Regions from separate parts of the Homo sapiens genome. Here region 2 is linked to region 1. The links are contacts of gene promoters, found by promoter capture Hi-C in blood cells and fetal thymus (Javierre and others, 2016). All regions are on one chromosome and are shown on one strand. The core of a region is centred on a gene start or on the middle of the fragment in contact, and the rest is flanking DNA. Distances in the headings are between cores, read along the strand shown. Region 1 holds the start of RNF144A (ring finger protein 144A). Region 2 has its middle 110 kb from the start of LINC01814.

What was found. The method cuts DNA at HindIII sites, captures the fragments that hold promoters and counts their contacts. A CHiCAGO score of 5 or more calls a contact.
Region 2: a fragment that was not itself captured here is called in contact with the fragment with the promoter of RNF144A in region 1 in 1 of 17 cell types (non-activated CD4 T cells); the score reaches 7.0 in non-activated CD4 T cells.

The regions. Positions count from the first base shown.
Region 1 is chr2:6,912,757-6,918,661 of GRCh38, reverse strand. RNF144A (ring finger protein 144A) reads right to left here and starts at 1,250. Exons shown (of 9, transcript NM_014746.6): 1 at 1,040-1,250. GRASLND (glycosaminoglycan regulatory associated long non-coding RNA) reads left to right here. Exons shown (of 5, transcript NR_033997.1): 1 at 1-260; 2 at 1,438-1,812; 3 at 2,695-2,839; 4 at 4,312-4,469; 5 at 4,998-5,905. RefSeq lists a silencer at 921-1,410. The HindIII fragment of the contact is 2,406 bases long and covers 1-1,891 here.
Region 2 is chr2:8,466,708-8,472,216 of GRCh38, reverse strand. No RefSeq gene overlaps it. Among named protein-coding and RNA genes, the nearest start is that of LINC01814, 110 kb to the left of the region's middle. The HindIII fragment of the contact is 4,338 bases long and covers 410-4,747 here.

The DNA.
Region 1 (5,905 bases), core at 1-2,500:
CTCCCGAGTAGCTGGGACTACAGGCGCCCGCCACTGCGCCCGGCTAATTTTTTGTATTTTTAGTAGAGAGGGGGTTTCACCGTGGTCTCGATCTCCTGACCTCGTGATCCGCCCGCCTCAGCCTCCCAAAGTGCTGGGATTACAGGCGTGAGCCACCGCGCCCGGCCAGTTCAATGGATTTTAAAAATTATTATTCTCTAGAAAAAAGACCACGAACTTTGGAGTGGACATCCTGAGACCTGCCTACGAAGACCATTAGGGTAAAGAAGTCACCCCTTCACCCCAGGACCAGGAAGCCTCCAGGATGGCATAAGCGACCAAACAGCTGGGAGCCAAGCACAGTGCAGGGGGCTTGGGGTCGGCGGCCGGAGGCTGGGGTGGGTAAGACCCGCAGGGAACTCCGGGGCTCGGGCGGCGGCTCATTCCCCGGGAAAGGGCTCGCGGTGGGGACCAGGGGCAGTAGCAGCCGCGGACCCCGCGCGCAGGGGATGTGCGGGGCATCCTCTTGGCCAGTTCCGACCTTCCCCGCCGGTGGCGATGCCCCGGACGCGTCGTCCTTTCCCAGACCTCCTCTTGGGGCCGAGGCTCCAGCCCCAGGGTCTGCGGGCGGGGCCGCGAACCTTGAAAGCCCCCGCCGCCAGCTCGCCCGCGGGACCCTGGCCCGGGGCGCCCTGTCCCGCGCCGCAGCGCAGACCCGCGACCGCGCAGGGCAGGCAGGGGGACGCCAGGTCCCTAAGCGCCCACTGCCCTGGGGCGCGGGCGCCGCCTGCGAGAGGCAGGGCAGGGCAGGAGCAGAGCAGGGACGAGGTCAGGGACACGGGCAGGGCAGGGCGGGCGTCCTCTGAACGGAGCCCGCGAGTCCCCGCCCGGGACGCTGCCCCCCGCCCGCTGCCACCGGGCGCCGGGGCAGGACCCAGCGGGGCAGGCGCGGCCGCAAGCCCCGAGCCCCAAGGCCGGCCGCGCAGCGCCGCGTCCCGCCCTCCCCGCTCCGCGGCCGGCCCGGGCGATGCGGACACAAAGGGGACGCGCGTCACTCTACCTGGGCCTGCTCGTCCGCGGTGCGCGGCTCTGACGCCTCCGCCCGGTACTGGCTGCGGGGTGCCGGGTGCCCGCAGTTTGCCGCCCGCGCCTCCCCGCGCCCGCGCAGCCCGCACGGCCCGCACTGCAATGCCAGCCCTGCCGCCTCCCGCCTGCCGAGAGCCCGCGCGGGGAGAAGCGGCTGCGCGGGCGGGGCGCGAGCGCGCACAGAGGCCGGGCACGCGGGAGGCTCGGCCCCGGCCCCGCCCCCGCGCCGAGCCGCACAGCGCCCCCTGCCGCCCGCCTGCGCCGGCCCGAGGCCCGGAGCCGCCCCGCAGGCCCCAGGACAGGCTCCGGCACGAGGAGGGGCTGCGGAGACCGCCCGTGCACGCTAACATGAAAATGCTATTCCTGCTTTAGTGGCCTCCAGAAGACACTCCCCTGATTCCTACACCGAGGGAACACACAGCAGCAAGCTAGGAAAGAAGGGGTGACCCAGCCCAACGCTGTAAACCAGGGCGCGAACCGGCGTTGAGCTGTGCAGCTGCGCCCTGGGCTCCAGTCCTGCTCTGCCGCAGACCCCACCGGAGCCAGCACCTGCCTCCCCGACCCTCGCTGGGGCGGCTGTGAGATGAGCCCAGAGCCTTCCTGAGCCAACCCTCGCAAGGAAAGTCTGTCTGTTCACCCCACTATCCTTGTCTTGAAGGATGAAGAAAAGAGGGCCCCCCGGGAGGTCCCAAAAGGTGGAATGGACATCTGGGATCCAAGCACAGCAATTTCTTTATTTTTCTTAAGGTATCCAGCTTGTTGGAATCTAAGATCTGCGAAGGTATTAATAGAATTCCTGCATCTTCTGCCACTCCCCATAGAAGCTTGAAGTTACACAAATGTTAAATTATACGTCAGATGTGCATATATGAACAAAACCTACGAGTGTGCATGAAATAACACCTTCTTAAATATATAGATTCTTTTTTCTGCAATATTAAATGGAAACCCCACTAGAACATCGTTTTTCCTTAATAGCATACCCTCCACACTGTGTGGTCTAAATTCAAGCTCTACCACCTACTAGCCATTAAGCAAGTTATTAAGGTCTTCGTGCTTCCATTTTCTTACGTGGAAAATGAGGTGGCAATAGTATGTATGAGTTCTTCGGAGGGATTAAACAAGTCAAATAGGCCAAGTGCCATGGCTTACACCTGTAAGCCCAGCACTTTGGGAGGCCAAGGCAGGAGGACTGCTTGAGCCCAGGAGGTCAAGGCTGAAGTGAGCTGTGTTTGCATCACTGCACTCCAGCCTGGGCAGCAGAGTGAGACTTTGTCTCTCAATAAATAAAGAAATAGTCAAATTAAATATAACTGGCAAACTAAAACAACTCCATAGTCCTTAGCTACAATTTGTCTCATTTCTCCAAAGAATTAAATCAGATGATTCTTAACTAACTCAAAGCTCTGCATAATTTGTCTTCTGCTACACATACATCTTTATAGTAAAATAAAATAAAGCTGTCCCCTCTGTATTGAGAAGTTATTCTGGTAAATATTTGACCTCTTCAAATATATGAACGAGCACTTGCCTTCTAATGCCTCAGTTTCAGATTCTTTTTAGAAATGTCATTATTCAAGAAAAATGCACAATGGGAAGAATCTTAACAACAGCACTTTGTTACTTCAGCCTCTCACTAGAGGATGAAAATCGTTCTGCATAAAGGCCTGGGCTTTATGAAAAATATATTCACACCTCCCGTGTCCGAGCTGGGATACCAAAGAAGTTCCTGGTTGAGTACTACTTATGAATGAAGGATTCAGGGGATGCACAGGTGGGTGACTGCAAATGCACAGACGTTGTGCTGTGTTCCCCACAATAAAGGGGTCTGTATTAAGATGCAGGCATTCTCATGGAACACAGACGTATAACACTCAAGCTGGGGGACTGCAAAGGAGCATCTGGGGCTGCAGGAAGAGAGTTAAGGTGCAAAAATGCCCTGACCCAACTGAGACTTGTAATTGCTCATGTGGTAATACATGTGACTTCATTCCCCTGCTCTGTCTTTGTGAATGCAACCATTGTTGGGGAGATAGTGAGAGGGGACACTGGCATTGAAAGTTTTGTTTGCAGCAGGCCTCAAAAGGCACTCAGATGCAGATTTCCCTGCAAAGACTTCCCGGCCTATCATGGAGTTCCCCATCCCTAGATCTCTGATCTCTGAGCTGGTGTAATACTTAGTCTTTGTCTGTGTTGATCATGGCATCTGCCACACTTAATGTTTGTGGCATTCACTTTCTGATGCTTAGATCTTACGATTCTAGAGAACAGCATTTTTCTACATATTCCCTCTTAGGGCCTTGAACATAATAAGTGCTCAATAAATACTGAGTGAAATCCTCTACTCTGAGCTTTGCCTCTGAGCAGCTGTCCTAGTTCTCTCCAACAAGAAGTTTGTTGGGTCTCTCAAGTTCACTTCCACCTGTCACTGTCAGTTTTCAGTCCAGCCCCTTACTCAGGTCTGGCTGGCCCATCTCCCCCAGAGGGCTGTCCCATAGAGCCCATTGTAAAGGACACTCATTGTTGCCAAGAGTTTGTGCCAATGCAGTATGACTCACCCTTCACTCATTGAACAAGCTCTTCCTGATTACCTAGATGGGCAAAATTTCCCTGCTCATGCGAAGCAGGCTGGCGACTCAGTGCTGCAGCAAATGGCCCAGAAGCTGGGAAAGCAGATAGCCGTTCTGACACTTCTCTTCTAGACAGAAAATCAAGGGAAGCTCAAGACCCACACTTGAATTTTTTTTAAAAAATTAGACAAGGGGCTGGGTGTGGTGGCTCATGCCTGTAATCCCAGCACTTTGGGAGGCCGAGGCAGGCAGATCACCTGAGGTTGGGAGTTCAAGACCAGCCTGACCAACATGGAGAAACCCCTGTCTCTGTTAAAAATACAAAATTAGCCAGGCGTGGTGGCACATGCCTATAATCCCAGCTACTCGGGAGGCTAAGGCAGGAGAATCGCTTGAACCCCAGAGGCAGAGGTTGCGGTGAGCCGAGATCGCACCACTGCACTGCAGCCTGGCAACAAGAGCGAAACTCAGTCTCAAAAAAAAAAAAAAAGAAAGAAAAAGAAAAAGAAAAGAAAAAAAATTAGACAAGGAAGTTTATGTGAATTTGTAATCACACATTCCATAAATATAGAAAATTCACTTTTTTTATTTTAAAAATTAACAAATTCCATTTCTTGTTTCTCTAGAGTAGCAGGAAATCAAATGTCAGTTCTCATTCTGACTTTCTCTCCTTAAGGACACAGAGGAATCTGGGGGATATTATGGTTCTGGGAATGTGGAATGTAACGTCTCATCTTCAGCCCATCTGTGCTACTGATCATCTCATTCCAGAAGCCATGCCTTCTCTCAGGAGCAGACAGCACAAGACTTTCCTGCCAGAGGCACAGTCCCCAGGTGAGCCACACAGCCTTCACAGGGTAATGCCAAAGAACAGAGGAGAGTTCCTGCTACTCTCCGGGTCTTCTTGGCAAAGCTTCTGATACAGTCTGGCTGTCTCTCCACCTGAATCTCATCTTGAATTGTAGCTCCCATAATTCTCGTATGTCATGGGAGGGATCAGGTGAGAGGTAACTGAATCATGGGGGTGGGTCTTTCCTGTGCCGTTCTCGTGACAGTGAATAAGTTTTATGAGATCTGATGGTTTTATAAAGGGGAGTTCCCCTGCAAATGTTCTTGCCTGCTGTGACTTTGCTCCTCCTTGCCTTCCGCCGTGATTGTGAGGCCTCCCCAGTTATGTGGAACTGTGAGTCCATTAAACCTCTTTTTCTTTATAAATTACCTAGTCTCAGGCATGTCTCTATTGGCAGTGTGGGAACAGACAGACTAATACAGCTTCCCTTGTCTGTACTCTTACCCTTCTCCCTTCAAAAGCATCCTCTCTTTCTTTTCCAACCTTTCCAACCTCTCGAATAATCTCTGCAGTGGGAGTAGCATCCACATAAGACAGGATGCAGAGATGTCTTCAAGCAGCTTCAAACAAAACTTCAAGAAAGAAAGTGCAAGTGAAAAAGGAAATTCATCCTTCCAGTCACTTAACACAGCACTGTCACGGACACCTTGTGCCTCCTTAAAATTCGTATACTGAAGTTCTAAGCCCCAGTACCCCAGAATGTGACCTTCTTTGGAAATAGGGTCATTGCAGATATGATTAGTTAAGAGGAGATCATACTGGAGTGGGCTTTAATCCAATATGACTGGTGTCCTTATGTAAAGGGGAAATTTGGACACAGACACACACAAGGAGAACACCATGTGAACTGAAGTCAAAGATTTGGGTGATGCTTCTACAAGCCAAGAAATGCCAAAGATGACCAGCAAAGCACCGGCAGCTGGTGGAGGAGCCTGGACCAGATTCTTCCTCACAGCCCTCAAAAGGAACCAATCTTGCCAAAGCTTTGACTTAGACTTCTAGCCCCCTGTGATGGTTAATGTTAAGTGGCAGCTTGACTGGGTTAAGGGATGCCCAGATAGCTGGTAAGACAGTATGTCTGTGTGCATCTCTCAGAGTGTTTCTGGACAAGATCAGCATTTGAATCCTTAGAGTAAAGAAGATCTGCCCTCACCCACGTGCATCACCCTATCTCTGGAGAGCGCGAACAAACAGGAGGAAGGGCACATATGCTCCTTCTGTTCCAGCTGGCACATCCATCTTCTCCTGCCCCCTGACTTCAGAGCTCCTGGTTCTCGGGCCTCAGGATTCCAGCACTTACATGAGAGCGTGCTTCCCCCTCCCTACTCCACCCCTAGGTTCTCCGCCCTTTGGCCTCTGACTGAATTCCACCACCAGCTTTTCAGGGTCTCCAGCTTGCAGACGGCAGATCGTGGGACTT
Region 2 (5,509 bases), core at 1,329-3,828, 1.6 Mb before region 1:
AGCTGGCAAATTGACGTGAACCCAGGTCTCTCTGATCCAGAATTGAGATTCTTTCTGCTAGGTGGCTTATCCATATACAGGTCTTGTTGGGAAATTTTTCTCCCCTGCCTATGAACGAGAAGCATAATCAGAGGCCACTTTGCGGGGCAAGGGTCCCTTTGAAAATCAGATGAAAGCCACTATGAAAGAGTGCATATGCCCCACAACTTTAGGGGGCTGAGGGCACCTCTGAGGTGCATCCAGAAGTCTCTTAATGTCTATGGAGCCCAGCTCAGGAAACCTTGTGATAAGGAAAAAAGGAACCAGAAGATGTCAGAAAAGAAAGAATTTTTAATGTAAGCAGATTTAAAAACTGCATTGTACGTACAGCCTACACACTCTGAATTTGTTGCCTTGAACATAACAAGCTTACATAAACAGGCTTCCATTACCTTATATGATAAATGTTCTTCTGGTTTGTAATGTGCACGTGAAAATGGACAACTCATTTGAACATTCTACAGGTAGATGTTTTTTCCTACCATAAAAGCCAAAACATCAAATAGCTTAAAACAATATACCTGGAAGTCGACATGATAAAATAGCATCACTTCCTTTTCCTTTACTACTCAGTTATTTTTCCCTGAGGGCAGTCCCTTTGCAGGTGGTATAGGGATGACTTCCATGCTATCACCCAGACTCACTTTACACTACTGCTATAGTCATCTTAAAGAAATTTGCATTTCATTGGAATGTATGTGTTTTCACTAAATTGATTATTTATGTTATACTCCCTTCCAGTGATCCTTAAAAATGTTCATGCACTGAGAATCACCAATGAACAGAGATGGAAGGGAGCTTAGAGATCATCCAACCTGACCTCCTTTACTTTTACAGATGGAGAAACTGAGGAGCTGAGAGGTTAAATCCCAGGCACTCAAGAAGTACCTGTGAAATGTGAGGCCAGATGGAATTTTCCTTCTGCTCCAAAGTCCTGGCAGGGTGGGAATCTTCAGTGGGACAGGGAGCCACAGAGGCTTTGCTAGCAATGAGGGGATGGCCACCGTGAAGGAAGGGTGCCCTGGTCCAGGATGGAGGTAGGACCCACCTGTGCCTCTAAGGATAACCGTCACCAACCCAAACCCGATGGGAGCATCTCTAAGATGAAGTAGAGTCCAAGTGGGGAAGACAGGGGGACAGAAAGGTCCAGAGACTCAGAGAACTTTGGGACAGGGAGAGGATGGTGCAGACCCTCCAGCAAGAGACTCAGGGACCCCCAGCTGTTCCCTGAAGGAGTCCTGGTGTGGGTTGAAAGGTGACTTGAAGGGAAAAGGGAAAAAAATATGTGGTTTAGCCTTAGGCCTCTGTGGATGTTTGGGACCATCTGGGGAAGGGGGTTACTTAGCTGTCAACACGTATGAATAGCCTGCCTGAGCACATTTTGGACCAGGTACTGTGGGAAGTTATAAAGGAGTAGAAGTCAGGGTCTCCACTTTCCAGCTTCTTAGCCACAGAGGTTGATGTGGTTAGGTGCCAAATTTAGCCACTTAACCTTTCGTGCTTTGACTGGCATTTTCAGACATTTACTCCTTTTTAGTTGGATTTAGTTTAGATTAAAACCTGGGTTGTAATCCAGTTTGGCAGCCATCATCTGGGTAGCCTGGGATAGTTGAGTCCTGTGAACTCTTGAGCCTCAGTTCCTTTGCCGGCCAAATGCACATTCTTCCTGTCCCCAAGAAATTAGAAATAACTTGTTTAAAGAGTTAAATTATAAGTCAAATCAGAGGAGCAAAACACCCTGGCTGTCTTCTGAACATACTTTTACTACAGCCATGTTCAGAGCATGATCACGTGCAAAGACAGGGTTTGTGTTTCTGGAGAATGGGCTGAATGTTTCAGAAGAAGCAGAGAGGCAGACACAGACACAGTGTCCTCCCGGTACAGGGAGGGCTCCCGGCCTAGAGGTGGGTCCACTGTAGCTGCCAGCAATGCCTTGCCATAGAAATGAGTTCACGTGATGTTAGGACGCCTTCAAATTGGAAACAATTCTCACTCTTTTCCCTCCAAGGTTGTTGAGCAAACTTCTGATTATCATTTGGTTTCCCAGTGTAATTTGTCTACACGGAGCAAATGTTTGGCCACAGGAAGTAAGCGCTGGTAAAGTTGGTGGTCATCTTTTGTTTCAGTTAAAAATTAATGCATTGACATTCTGGTTTCTCTACTTGGTTTCCTGTGGGTTGGTTGGCGTGAGTCACACACAGCCGCTGACCCCCAATGCCCCTTCCATGCCCTGCACCATTGTCTCTTTCTTCCCACCCGCTGTGTCTCCCATCTTCACTGACCATACACAGGGGCTCAGAGCCAGTTTTAACTCTCAAGAGATAACTGTGGGGCTCAGCTCAGTCCTCAGAGCTGTGTCCTATTGCAGGCTCCTGGAAGTAGGAAGTGTGACCACAACCATAGCCCAAAGGCCTGTTGACACTCAACAATGCTAACTGAATGAATGAGTGACTTAATGCCTGGGCGCAGGTGGAAAGGGAATAGAGGGCAAAGCTCTGGCATTAGGGTGGGGAAGTTCCTATTTGAAGTTGGTGGAAGGAGTAATATGCCAAGGCCGCTGGCCTGGTCTCTTTCACTGTCCCTGTATGGCTGTGGGAATGCCAACATGTCCTTGTTTACAAAATGAAGCAGGTGGAATTGGGATCTTGGAATCATGGAAGGGAAGGTAAAATATCATGAGGATTTCCGTGCACACTTTAACATTCAACTCTAAAGTCAATGGCGTTCATGGAGTTTGCATAGATAATCCTAAAACCTACATGCAAGAGTAAAGGACCAAATGAAGACAATTTTAATGGAAAAAATATGCTGTGGGATTTGCTTTCCAAGCATTGACTTATTAAAAAGCTGTTGTCATTTAGACAGTGCAGCATCAAGGCAGGAACAGAAAGCAGATCAATTGGCCAAACTGGCCGAAAGATTCGCTGGTCTAGGACAGAGGCAGAGTTACGCATCAGTGGGAAATATTTGCTGTTTGGGACATTTGGTTATCCAAATGGGAAAAAAAGTTAAATTAGCTCTTTACCTCACAACAAATAAATATGTCAATTCAGATAGATTAAAGATTTATACACAAAAGTGGAATGATAGAATACCTTCCAACATTGGGTAGAAAAGCATCTTAAACAAAATACAACAAGCAATGGCCGTAAAGGCAAGATTCATACATTTGATATTAAAACTACAATTCCTAGGCAAGAAAGATAAAGATGACCATATATTGGGGGAAGGTATTTGCAACAAACATAACTAAGAAAAAACAAGTGCTAAGAATATATATGTAGGAAAACAGTATAGCAGCTCCCCAAAAAATTAAATATAGAGTTACCATATGATCTGGCAACTCTATTTCTGTGTATACACCCCAAAGCATTGAAGGGAGGGACTCAAATAAATATGTGCCCACCAGTGCTCACAGCAGCGCTATTCCTAAGAGCCAAAAGGTGGAAACAACCCTAGCGTGCACCAGTGGTTGAACAGGCAAAGAAAATGCACAGTATCCATATAACGGAATACTCTCCAGCCTTAAGAAGACAGCACATTCTGGCCGGGTGTGGTGGCTCACGCCTGTAATCCCAGCACTTTGGGAGGCCGAGACGGGCGGATCACGAGGTGAGGAGATCGAGACCATCCTGGCTAACATGGTGAAACCCCGTCTCTACTAAAAATACAAAAAAAAAAAAAAAAAAAAAAAAAAATTAGCCAGGCGTGGTGGCGGGTGCCTGTAGTCCCAGCTACTTGGGAAGCTGAGGCAGGAGAATGGCATGAACCCAGGAGGCGGAGGTTGCAGTGAGCTGAGATCACACCACTGCACTCCAGCCTGGGTGACAGTGCAAGACTCTGTCTCAAAAAAAAAAAAAAAAAAAAAAAAAAAAAAGAAACAGCACATTCCTACACACACTACAGCACAGATGAACCCTGAAGACATCGTGCTAAGGCGCAATTATGCACAATTATGCGAAGACAGTGTACATGAAGGAAATATTGTGTGATTTCACTTACATGAGATACCTAGGGTAGTCCAATTCACAGACACAAAAAGTAGAATGATGGGTTCCAGGGGATGAGGGAGAGAGAAACGGTGAGTGAGTGTCGAATGGGACAGAGTTTCAGTTTGAGAAGATGAAAAAGTTCCGGAGGTGGAGAGTGGGGATGGTTGGTCAACCACACCAATGTACTTAATGCCACTGAGCTGTATCCTTAAAAATGGTTGAAATGATACATTTTATGTTATGTATATTTTACCACAGTGAAAAAATAGATGAAGTACTGACAGATGCTACACCATGGACGAATCTTGAAAACATTTATGCTCGGCGAAAGAAGCCAGACACAGGAGATCACACACTGTATGACTCCATTTCCATGCAACGTGTAGAGCAGGCATATTTAGAGGGACTGAAAACAGAAGCATGGTGGCCAGGGCCATGGAGGAGTGAAGGGCCCTGGGGCTGAGGGCTAAAGTGTTTCTTTTTGGGCTAATGAAAAAATCCTAAAATTGATTGTGGTGATGGATGCACAACTCTGCGAATATTGTCAAAGCCACTGGAATGTACACTTTAAGTGGGTGAGTTGTATGGCACATGAATTATATCTCAATAAAGCTGTTACAAAAAAAGTTAAAAAAAAGAATATATAAATAACTCTTTCAAAATTAGGAAAGGCAAACAACAAAGAGAAAACCGGGTAAAGAATAGAGGGGGAAGCTTGATAGGCCAGTAAATATATGAGAACAAGTTCAGCCCAGGGAAATGCAAATCAGAGCAACAGTGAGATTCCACCTCACCCATCAGGCTGGCAAGAATTCAAATCCTTTCATCCCCAGTAACGGGGAAGACGTGAAGCAACGCAAACCATCACGAGTCGCTGTGTGGAAACGTAAATTGGTACAGACTCTTTGGAGAGCAATTTGGCAATATTTGGCAAATGGGGAGAACCGCACACTTTTGACTCAGCAATTCTACTTCTAGGGATGTACCCCGGGGAATTTCTCATGTGTGTGTAGAAGTTCTGTGTAAAAACGTCAATGTGGCACTGTAATATCAAGAAAATTGGAAACATCCTAAATGTCCACCTCAGGACACAGGATAAGCGAATTGTTTATGAGGCAGTAGAATACTATACAGCAGTTAAAATGGACTGCCCGTGTACTGTATTCATATGGATGGATCTTTCAAACCAAACATTGAAAGGCAAGTAGAACACCCCACTTACACAATGTTTATAAAACAGGGAAAACCACATTTACATAATTTATAAACAGGACTTCACCTCTACCTGTATTCTTCTGTAGATCTTTTTCTTCTCTAAAATGAAAGGTCTGAAGCAAGTGTGTCGAAAGGTTAAGAATGATTAAATCTCACAGGTGTTGATATGGGTGTTTGTTATATTATTTTATACTTTTTTATATTCTTGAAATAATTCATAATTCAAAGAACATTTTAAAGACCTACATGAGGGGAACAGTACA